Linked DNA regions of Homo sapiens: region 1 is linked to region 2. The links are contacts of gene promoters, found by promoter capture Hi-C in blood cells and fetal thymus (Javierre and others, 2016). All regions are on one chromosome and are shown on one strand. The core of a region is centred on a gene start or on the middle of the fragment in contact, and the rest is flanking DNA. Distances in the headings are between cores, read along the strand shown.

Evidence for each region. The method cuts DNA at HindIII sites, captures the fragments that hold promoters and counts their contacts. A CHiCAGO score of 5 or more calls a contact.
Region 1: a fragment that was not itself captured here is called in contact with the fragment with the promoter of COL27A1 in region 2 in 1 of 17 cell types (M1 macrophages); the score reaches 5.4 in M1 macrophages.

The regions. Positions count from the first base shown.
Region 1 is chr9:113,789,619-113,794,566 of GRCh38, forward strand. No RefSeq gene overlaps it. Among named protein-coding and RNA genes, the nearest start is that of ZNF618, 84 kb to the right of the region's middle. RefSeq lists a silencer at 2,550-2,760 and an enhancer at 4,631-4,948. The HindIII fragment of the contact is 598 bases long and covers 1,118-1,715 here.
Region 2 is chr9:114,152,502-114,156,980 of GRCh38, forward strand. COL27A1 (collagen type XXVII alpha 1 chain) reads left to right here and starts at 3,036. Exons shown (of 61, transcript NM_032888.4): 1 at 3,036-3,511. The coding sequence starts at 3,450. LOC105376225 (a long non-coding RNA gene) reads right to left here and starts at 1,767. Exons shown (of 5, transcript XR_930256.3): 1 at 594-1,767; 2 at 339-496; 3 at 92-186. RefSeq lists an enhancer at 843-1,364 and silencers at 2,901-3,020, 3,908-4,202. The HindIII fragment of the contact is 6,106 bases long and covers 587-4,479 here.

The DNA.
Region 1 (4,948 bases), core at 167-2,666, 360 kb before region 2:
ATGACCTGTCTTCAGAGACTCACAGTCTGGTGCTCAATCAGTTCAAATACAAGCAGGGAATGAGTAAGGCCTCAGGATAACACAAAAAGAGCTATGGGCTTGGACCAGAGAGGACCCCTTCTTCCAGAGGCGACATCCAGAAAGGCTGCATGGAAAATGTGGTTTTGTAGCTGGGCGTTGAATGACACAGCTACAGTGACATAACATAGAGTTATGAGGGTGGGGGGAACTGGGACCAGATAGAAGGACCAGCATGAGCAAAGGTCTGGAGCGGGGAGTAGACAGTTTAGGGATGCTGTGGCAGGGCTGGGTGCCATCGGCTGGGACTCAGTCCTGATGACAGGCCCAAGCTATCATTCCTGCCCTGTGCAGCCCTCAAGTCTCATCCAAGTCAGCTCTGAACATGGGCAGAAGAGAAGTCTTACTTTCCTCAACCTCCAGGAGACCCCGGGTTGGATCTCGCAATGGCCACTCGTTGTGTATGGACACAATCGTGTCATCATCGGCTGTCATACCCCACCTCCCCTCCTCCAGCCTCACTTTCTCCTGCAGCAGAGCCTCTTGAGGTCTTCCAAATTCATGCTTAGTCCAACGAGGAGCGGATGCCATCCAACTTGCCCGGAAACACAGATTAGAGAAAACACACACAGTCAATTTAACTGGCAATTAAACAGGCTCCCCTATGTAATTAGCGTCAAGACAACTCACAATTACTACAGGGTGCACATTCGCAGCCGACGCTCCACATTTATATAGAGCGACAATTACTGGGCGCTAATATCTTAACAGGAAGAGAGGAAATTTGTGAAACCATTTCAAGGAGGCAGCCCATCTTGTCCCTTTGCACTGTAAATAACTCCTTTGTAAATGCAACTGTAAAATTAAAGAGGGAAGGCTTGAAATGATGCAGATGAGAAATATTTACTCTGTTGAAAGTAAGTGATTGCTATTTTGAGATGACTGATTTCAGGAGACTAACTAGTTGTGCCATATTAGTAATAACAAACACACATGCTGAAGGCTTCCCTTGTGCCAGGCCCATTATGGACTTTCTTGCATCTGGGTTTCACGATGACTGTCTCACAGAGACGGGGAACTGAGGTCAGGGAGGTGAAGAAGCTTCCCAAGGTCACACAGCTCACAAGGCAGGCAGCAGGGTATAAACCCGGGTCTGACCCCAAAACCGTCGTGCAAAATCCACCTTGCACATTGCTTCTGTCTGTGCCACCTGAAAGAGCTCTCACGTCCACTCCCAAAGACTAGCAAATGGGGGGAGGCAAAGGCTCAGAGAGGAAGGGGTTTGCCCCAGGTCTTGCAGCAAGTTCATGGCAGAGTGTGGCCAGGATCCCAGGTTGCTCATCATTGGCCCTCTCCTCTGTGCCCTAGAGTATGTACAGAAAATGATGCCTGTGGAAAGCTACCAATGAAGGTCCCTTCTGGTAAGACCATCTGCCCTAGATCTGCCTTGTAGGTCTGAGGTCCTTGTTCCCAGGAAGAGAGAGGCCTGGGGTGGCTTCAGGGTCAATAGATGCCACACAACATAAACAAGCAAAGAGAACATGTGAAACCAGCAAACATTGCACTGGTCACACAGTGAACATTTTCCTTTCTCTCCCCTTCTTTTAACCTTTAGAAATGCCCGCTGCAAGGAATAGCAACCATCCCGTAAATTAGGAACCCAGCAATTAGGAATACTTGGCCAGATATAATATACAAGCTTAGTTCATCAAAGGACTTTAGCAGTAAAATCTACCCACCCCAAAGCCTATGTCAAGTTGGTGAATGTATCAGTTAGCTACTGCTGTGTAACAAACCTCCTAAAAACTCAGGAGCTTAAAAACAATGATGTATTATCCCTTCCCCATCTACTGGTCAGCTGGGGCTTAATCTGGGCTGAGCTTTGCTGGGTGCCCCTTCTTCTTGCTGCAGGTCTGTGACTCAGCAGACAGCTCTGCTCCACGTGTCTCTCAGTCTTCTTGGACCAGCAGGTTGGCTGGGGCACAGTCCTTTCATGGATCTGGTAGAGGCTTAAGAGTGTAAGCAAGGCTGGGCACCGTGGCTCGCCTGAAATCCCAGCACTTTGGGAGGCTGTGGTGGGCAGATCACTGGAGGTTAGGAGTTCAAGACTGGCCCGGCCAACACGGTGAAACCCCGTCTCTACTAAAAATACAAAAACTAGCCAGGTGTGGTGGTGCACCCCTGTAATCCCAGCTACTTGGGAGGCTGAGGCAGGAGAATCACTTGAACCTGGGCGGCAGAGGTTGCAGTGAGCCGAGATCATGCCACTGCACTTCAGCCTGGGCAATGGAGCGAGACTCTGTCTCAAAAAAAAAAAAAAAGTATAAGCAGAAACATGCAAAAAAGGCCTGGGCTTGGGTCTGTCACTTCTGTCCACATGCCATTTGCCAAGTCACATGGCCAAGCCCAAGTCATATGGCAAGTGTGTGTATGCAGGGAGGGTTAAGAATTGGGAGACAAGGGCATTCAATTTACCGCAGTGGAATAAAACAGCAATGAAGTCATTTTCTTGTTTGAAAAAATCAGTATTTGATGGAGAAGGAGCTAGCAGCTGGGAAGATATGACTTAAAGTTTTAATGTATTACTCTGTAAAATGCAGATAATCACAAATAGCTCACAGGGCTGTTGTGAGGTTTAAATGAAATAATCCATCTAATTTACCCAGCACCAACCATGCCTGACAAGTCACAGGCACTCAATGACCACCCATCCCTAAGGCGACCGACTTGTGCCAGTTTACCCAGGACTGTCCATCCTGGGAACCCCCTCAGTCCCAGGCAAACCAAGACAGTTGGTCACCCTAACTATCCTCATCACTAAAATAATACGTGTGAGCTAATCTTTATTTGCCAGGCATACTGCCACGTATGTGGGGAAGATTCTCTCATTTACCCCTTACAACCACCGTACTCAGCAAGGGGCCACAATTTTGATGCTACTGCCTACAGAACTCAGGGAGCACCAGAGAACATGGAGGTCAAAGATAGAGTTTTTCATGGATTCTTCCCTCAAGGGGCTGACAATCTAGGAAGAAAGAAACAGATGAATAGTAACAAGCATCACACAAGGGAGAAAGTGATTCTGGCAGATCCATCTTCCTCAAGGATAGTAAGGTGGGGATTTTAAAAAATTAACATTCACGTTCCTTTATAACTACTTTTTTTTTTTTTGAGACAGGGTCTCACTCTGTCACCCAAGCTGGAGTGCAGTGGCATGATCGTGGCTCATTGCAGCCTCAACCTCCTGGGCTCAAGTGATCTGCCCACTTCAGCCTCCCAAGTAGCTGGGAGCACAGACGTGCACCACCACGGGCCCAGCCTGTAGCTACTTGCCTTGATAGCCAAGGTTGAGTTTGGCTGTGGAAATTTAGGGAAAATTATATCTGACAATGATTTCCTTGACAAAATGAATTTGACTTAGTTCTCCCATTGGGGAGTCTTGTTCTAAATCTATTTGTTTACAAATTGGAAATCCTTTAAGTCACCCGAGGGCTGGTGGAGGCTGTTCAGCCCCTTTACTCCCGGCAGCCCTGGGGATGAAGAAGAATCTGTTCTCGGGGTGCTCTGGGTGATGTCAGCATTCCCCCACTTGCTAAGAAAGGTATACGAAATCAAACTTATCAGTTCCACTCGTCACCTCTCTCCTCGCGGCTGGGCCCTTCACTTTTACGTTTTCATTGTTTTAAAAAGTCATAGACAAAGCATTATATTACCAGGAACACAACACACGCATGCAGCGTTACCCGGTGAAGCCAATTTTATACTCAGCCCTGATGTCTTCTGGAAGGGCCAAGCCCACAAAGGGCATTGAGGCACCTTGGGTGGACTGTGGTTTCTGAGAAGATCCAAAGGTGGACTTGGGCATTTAATGCCTCATGACCTTCAGCTGCGGAAACCAGAGGGCTCATCTGGCCAGGTTTCCACTCACCTTCCCTTCATTTCAGTTCGATAGTGAGTGTTCACTTTCTGGTCTTACTGGCCAAACTCAGGCTCCTTCTCAGAGCCTGCGAGTTCATTTGTCATTCACCCAGGTTTCATGGAGGGCTCTTGGGACCAGGAGGCCTACACTCAGCTGCACAGATAAACAGGTCAGTGTTGGAGACACGCAGCCCGACACGTGTATAAACAGCGAGGCAATGTCAGCCTTGAGAGGTCCAAAGAGCGGGCTGCAAAATGTGTGATGAGGGCAGGAAGGAAGGGGGCAGGGACTCAAGGGAGGCTTCTCAGAGGCGGCAGTATTGGGGCTGAGCCCAGCACATCTGCAGTCCCTCCTCCGTGAAAAGAAAATTAGGTTTTCAATCCCTGGCCTGCTTCTTATGGTCGGGGGCTTTAAGCAAGTCGTCTAAGCTTTCTGGACTCAGTTTCTACATCTGCAGAATGGAGAATGATGATTGTACCTAACTCGTGAAGGCGTCATGAGAATTAAATAAGACAACGTGTATCATGCACTCAGAACACGCAGTCGTTTATTTAACAAGTACTTACTAAGCACTGATTTGATGCCAGGCAGTGTTCTGGGCAACGCAGAACACAGAGGCAGACCCAGGCCCCACAGTGACTTCACAGGACCCGGAACATGGGTATGGGACGATTAAACGGGAGTTGTCATCATTATCATCGCACCTGCCTTAACCCAATGGGTCAAAACAGGGCCCAGAAGCAACACCACCCAGGTGGCCCCAGATCCCCAAACTCCCTCTGCCCTCAACTAGGAGGCACTGAATTAAAACTTTAACCAACACGTGCATAACAATAGCGAGGCAATATCAGCCTTGAGAGGTCTCATCTTCAAAACAAGAATGAGGGAATTAAGCTTTCTGAAAGCAGGAAGTTAGCCCAGCTTTTAGATGCAAAAAACAAATGTCAGGCTCCAGTTTGGAGAGAAGTCTTGGGACTGGAGGACCCTATCGTTCACCCCAGTTTCCACCTT
Region 2 (4,479 bases), core at 1,786-4,285:
CGGTTTCTTTCCATCCCTTAATCAGCTTCACAATTCAATTGATCTGCATCTCTTTGGTGGCATTTATCACATTCTCCTTATATTATCTTACCTTTATGCAGTTGCAGGGGGTTCTCCATGACATAGTGATGTCTGATGTCTCCCATCCAGACTCTCTTCCCTACCCCAAGTTGCTGTGCGTGTCTCCTGTCCACATTACAAATGCGTGCATGACCAGAAGGCAGGACCATATGGAAATTTTTGTCCCTGCCCCCACAGTGGCAGACCCTTTTCCCCCAGAGTCTTGTACAGGGGTTTGCATACTGTAGGAGTTAAAACAAATAACTTATTTAAATTACCAACGGTTTGAGCATCTATTGTATCCCAGGCTCCATGTGTCAGGCTGGGTGTGGGGACACAGAGATGGATCTGACAATGACAGCGCCATGTGATGTGTGCTGCAATCCCGGTGTAGGGCAGAGCAGCTCACCAGAGTCAGGTGAGCTCTGGCCTGCACCTAGAAGAATAACCAGGTTGTGAACAGGCAGAAAAGGGGCAGAGGGAGAACCTGGGAGGAAACAGTATGGAGAAAGCATCGAAGTAGTCAAGCTTACCTGAGCCTGGGTGCAGGTATCAGAGAGACTGGAGCTCAGGAGGCCGGATCTGAAGCTGGGGAGGCTGCTGAGGATCTGCACAGAACCCCTTAAAGCCTAAGATTTGGATCCTTATGACAAGATGCAGAAGTTTGGAGTTAGGTTACCTGGGTTCAAATCCCACCTCTACCACCTACCCGTTTATGTCAGCTTTCCCATCTGTAAATGGAGAGAAAAAAGCAGGCCTCCCTTAAACCCCAGCACTGTGTGGGTCAGGGTCTGGACTAGGGTGTGGCACATGCAGAGATGCAGCATACCAGGAGATGCCAAGAAAACTCAGCAACGGAGGTAAATTGCCCAAAGCAGTGCCCCAAACCCCTAAGTAATCAAAATAATATTTTAATTTTTTACTTTTAAAATATTTTTAAAAGTATCAAAATTAATGCAAAACCCCACAATGAACAAAATATCTAAAATGTAAATAAAGACAGGGTCTGCATGGTACCAAGTATGCAACTAAAAAAACATCAGTTATGATTGAAGAGGGAGTTCTCAACCTTAGGGGGCCGTGGACTTCTGAAAACCGGAGGAAAGCCCACGGCCCCTCTCCCCTGAAGAATGCACAAACATGCTCAATTTGTGCACAGTTTGGGGGTGTTCCTGCACTCCCTGGGGTTCGTGCACATGGAAGTTAAGAACTCTGGTTCAACATTGGGGGTGCGGGGGTGGCGGGGGTGGTTCCACGCGCCGGCCAGCAGCCTGCCAGTTCCCCAGTCCCGCGACTGGCCTCCCTCCTGGCAGCCATGGGTGCTCTGCCCTCTGCAGGAAGCAGCGCACAGCTATGCAGCTCCCCCAACCCCCCTACCTCCCCTCTCTCGGCTTGGGACTTTTCCTAAAGTTTGTTGAAACCAGACACCTTGCTCGACCGAGCCCGCGTGCAGCCAGGGTTTAAAAGGCCGCCTTCAGCGCCCCCTCCCCGCCCCCAGCGGAGACTTCAAAAGGCCCGGCGGGCGCCGCCGCCCCAGCACCTATGAGCCGCCCCCAGCTCTCGGAGCCCGCGCCGGAGCCCGTGGACGCAGAGCTGCCGAAGTTCGAGCGCAGGCGGACCGGGTCGGCGGCGCAGTCCCGCGCGCCCATGCCCCTCCCGGTGCCGCTGCGCTCCGCGCGCCCGCGCCCCGTTTAGGGAAGGGGACCTCGCCCCCCGCCCCCGCGCCCACGGCTGCGGGGACCCATGAATACAAATGCCGTTAGGCGCCGGAGGAAGGACCGACCGGCCAGCCTCGCACGTAGGGACCCAGTAAGTGCTTGGGGGCTCCTGGAGCGGTGCGAAGTGTTATATGCCTGTGTGTGCGCGCGCCTAAAGGTGTGCGCGTATGGGGAGGTGGGTACACGCGTGAGGAGTGAATGCGTGTGTGCACATGTGCGGTGGGCACTCTCGGAGAACTGTGTGCAAGTGAGGGTGTGCGCGCGTGTGTCCACCCGGGGTGTGTACATGTGTGGGGGCGATATGGCCAGGATAGCGTGCATTTGTGCCTGTGTAAGCATCCGTGTGCATGCTTCTGCGAGTGTAGAGTATCAGCGTGCGCCTGAGCCCAGATATCTGAGGATGCGTTTCGTGTGAACCTAGGAAGGGTGCGTGGCTGTCCCAGAATGGGACCGTGTGTGAGCGTGTGTCTGAGTTTGGGGAAAGGGTGGATACGTGTGGGAGTGTGTGTGTGCACCGGTGAATAAGTGTAACTTTGCTCGTGAACGAGTGGCAAGAGGTGGTAGAGGCGGAGGGAGCTGTGGTCCCAGGGCTGGACTGGAGTTTTGGGTGTGAGAATTTGCCCGGGGGCCAAGGTGTGCAGCTCTTAGCTCCCGGATGGGATCCGAGGGAGTTTTTGTCGATTCTGGGGAGGTGCGTGGTTAGTGGTGGTGGTGGGGTGCGGTTAGATTCCAATTGCTGACAGAAGGGAGAGAGAGGGTGGCAAACCCTTAACAAGCCCACCCTATATGTTCTCCAGGGCGCTCCGAGTCTGGGAGCGCAAACTTTTGGTGGGCGGTGGGGATCACGATACTGGTTGTCGTGGGCGTCTGGACACCAAGTTCTGGTCCTAGCTCCGTCCCTGAAACTGTGGGTTTCTTCCAGGAGTAGAATTTGGCCCTTCTCCCCTACCCCAACCCCCCATTGGAGGACCCCCAGCCTCACCAGTCAGAAGTTCCTAATCTCAGAACGGTGATCAAATCACCGTGAAGCCCTGGGCAGCCCCTTCCTCTCTGTGAATCTGTTTCCCCATCTATACAAGGAGGAGGGGGGCGGGTGTCCCATCGGGGCTGTAGTGGGCCAGCTGAGGCTGTACCCTTGGCTCCGGCCGGCAGGGGGCAGCAGGGGGCAGCAGAGGGCGGCCGGGAGCGGGGAGGAGGGAAGGTGGAGAGCCACCGCGGGCCGAGACTTTAAATCGCCTTCATTTCCCCCAAATCCTTCCTTTTCCTCTCCTCCCCCAGGCCGGCGGGGAGGCAGCTTCCACCGCCCTCCGCGCGCCCTCACCCGGCCTTGCTCTGCCTCCGGGGACCGCCAGCAGCCCGCCTCCAAAAGTTTGATCATCTCTCTCTCTCTTTTTCTTGCTTCTTCTTCCTTTTTGGTGGAAGCAGAAAAGGACCGAGGCAGGGGCGAGCGCGGCGCCCGGACTCCTGGGACCATGGGCCTGGCGCGGGCGCCCGCGGGGCCCCAGCCGCGCTGCCTGCCTGCTCGGGCGCCCCTGGGCGCGGGGCTGCGCTGGGGGCGCGGGGGCCGCGCGCTCTAAGCCGGCCTGGCGCGGCGGGGCGGGGGGCTGGCGGCCCCATGGGGCGCGCCCACACTTGCCCCCCGGGCTCGGGAGCATGAAGTAGGGGCCTGCCATGGGAGCGGGATCGGCGCGGGGGGCCCGAGGCACAGCGGCGGCGGCGGCGGCGCGCGGGGGGTGAGTACGAACTCGGGGACGCCCCCTCCCTAGCTTCCTGCTGCTCCAATCTCGGGGAGGGCCGGGGTTCCCCGCCATGCGGTCGCTTCCAGCGGAACGTCAGCTTCCTGCCCCTTCCTGCGCCCCCGCGAGGCGGGACGCCAAGGGTTAATAGGGGCTGCGCCCCCGGCCGGGCGAGAGTTGGCGAACGCTGCCCGCCCTGCCGCGCCTGGCCCGGCTGCCCGATCCCGTTGGGGCGGGGGCAGAGCCAGCCCGGGGGTCGGGGGTGGGGGTGGGTGGTGGCGCCTGGAGCGGCCGGCGGGGTGCGGAGGGGGGCTTTTTGGATGCTTGGGGGAGGAGGGGGGTCTCCGTTTGGGGCCGTCTCGGTGTGTTCCGGTGTCTCAGTGTCTGCAGGTCCCAAGCCTGTACGTCTCCGTTTCTATCTGTTCTTGTGAAATTGTCCGCAAGTTTCTAGGTCACCAGGTCTCGGGTTCTGCTCCTGTCTCCGTGTCTGTGTGGCTCTGCACGTCCCCGCGTTTCTGGAAATCTCCGCGTGTTTGTGTTAGTCGGCCTGGGTCTGTGTGTCTGTGTTTCCTGCTTCTCGGTTCCTGTCCCTTTCACGTGTGTAAGAGAGAAAAAGTGAGAGCCAGCATGTCAGAGCAGAAAGGGCCCTGGGCGATCACTGTGCGGAACCCCTCAGTGTACAGATCGGGAGACAGGGCCGGAGAGGGGCAGGGACTCTCCCAGGAGCGGCTGCGCGGAGCTGGGGCCCAGAGGCTGGGATTCCCAGCGTGTGGAGTAGGAGTTGTAAGAGAGAGTGAGCCTGTGCTGGAGCCGGCGCAGCGTGTGGGTGTGTGTGGGAGCCAGCAGCATGCAAGCAGCCCGTTGGGGCCTGTGGACGGCGCTCCTCTCTTTCCATCCTGCCCCCAGGACACCAGGACACTCCCCAGAGGCTGTTAGGGCTGTAGCTGGGCCCTGCCCCCTTTGAG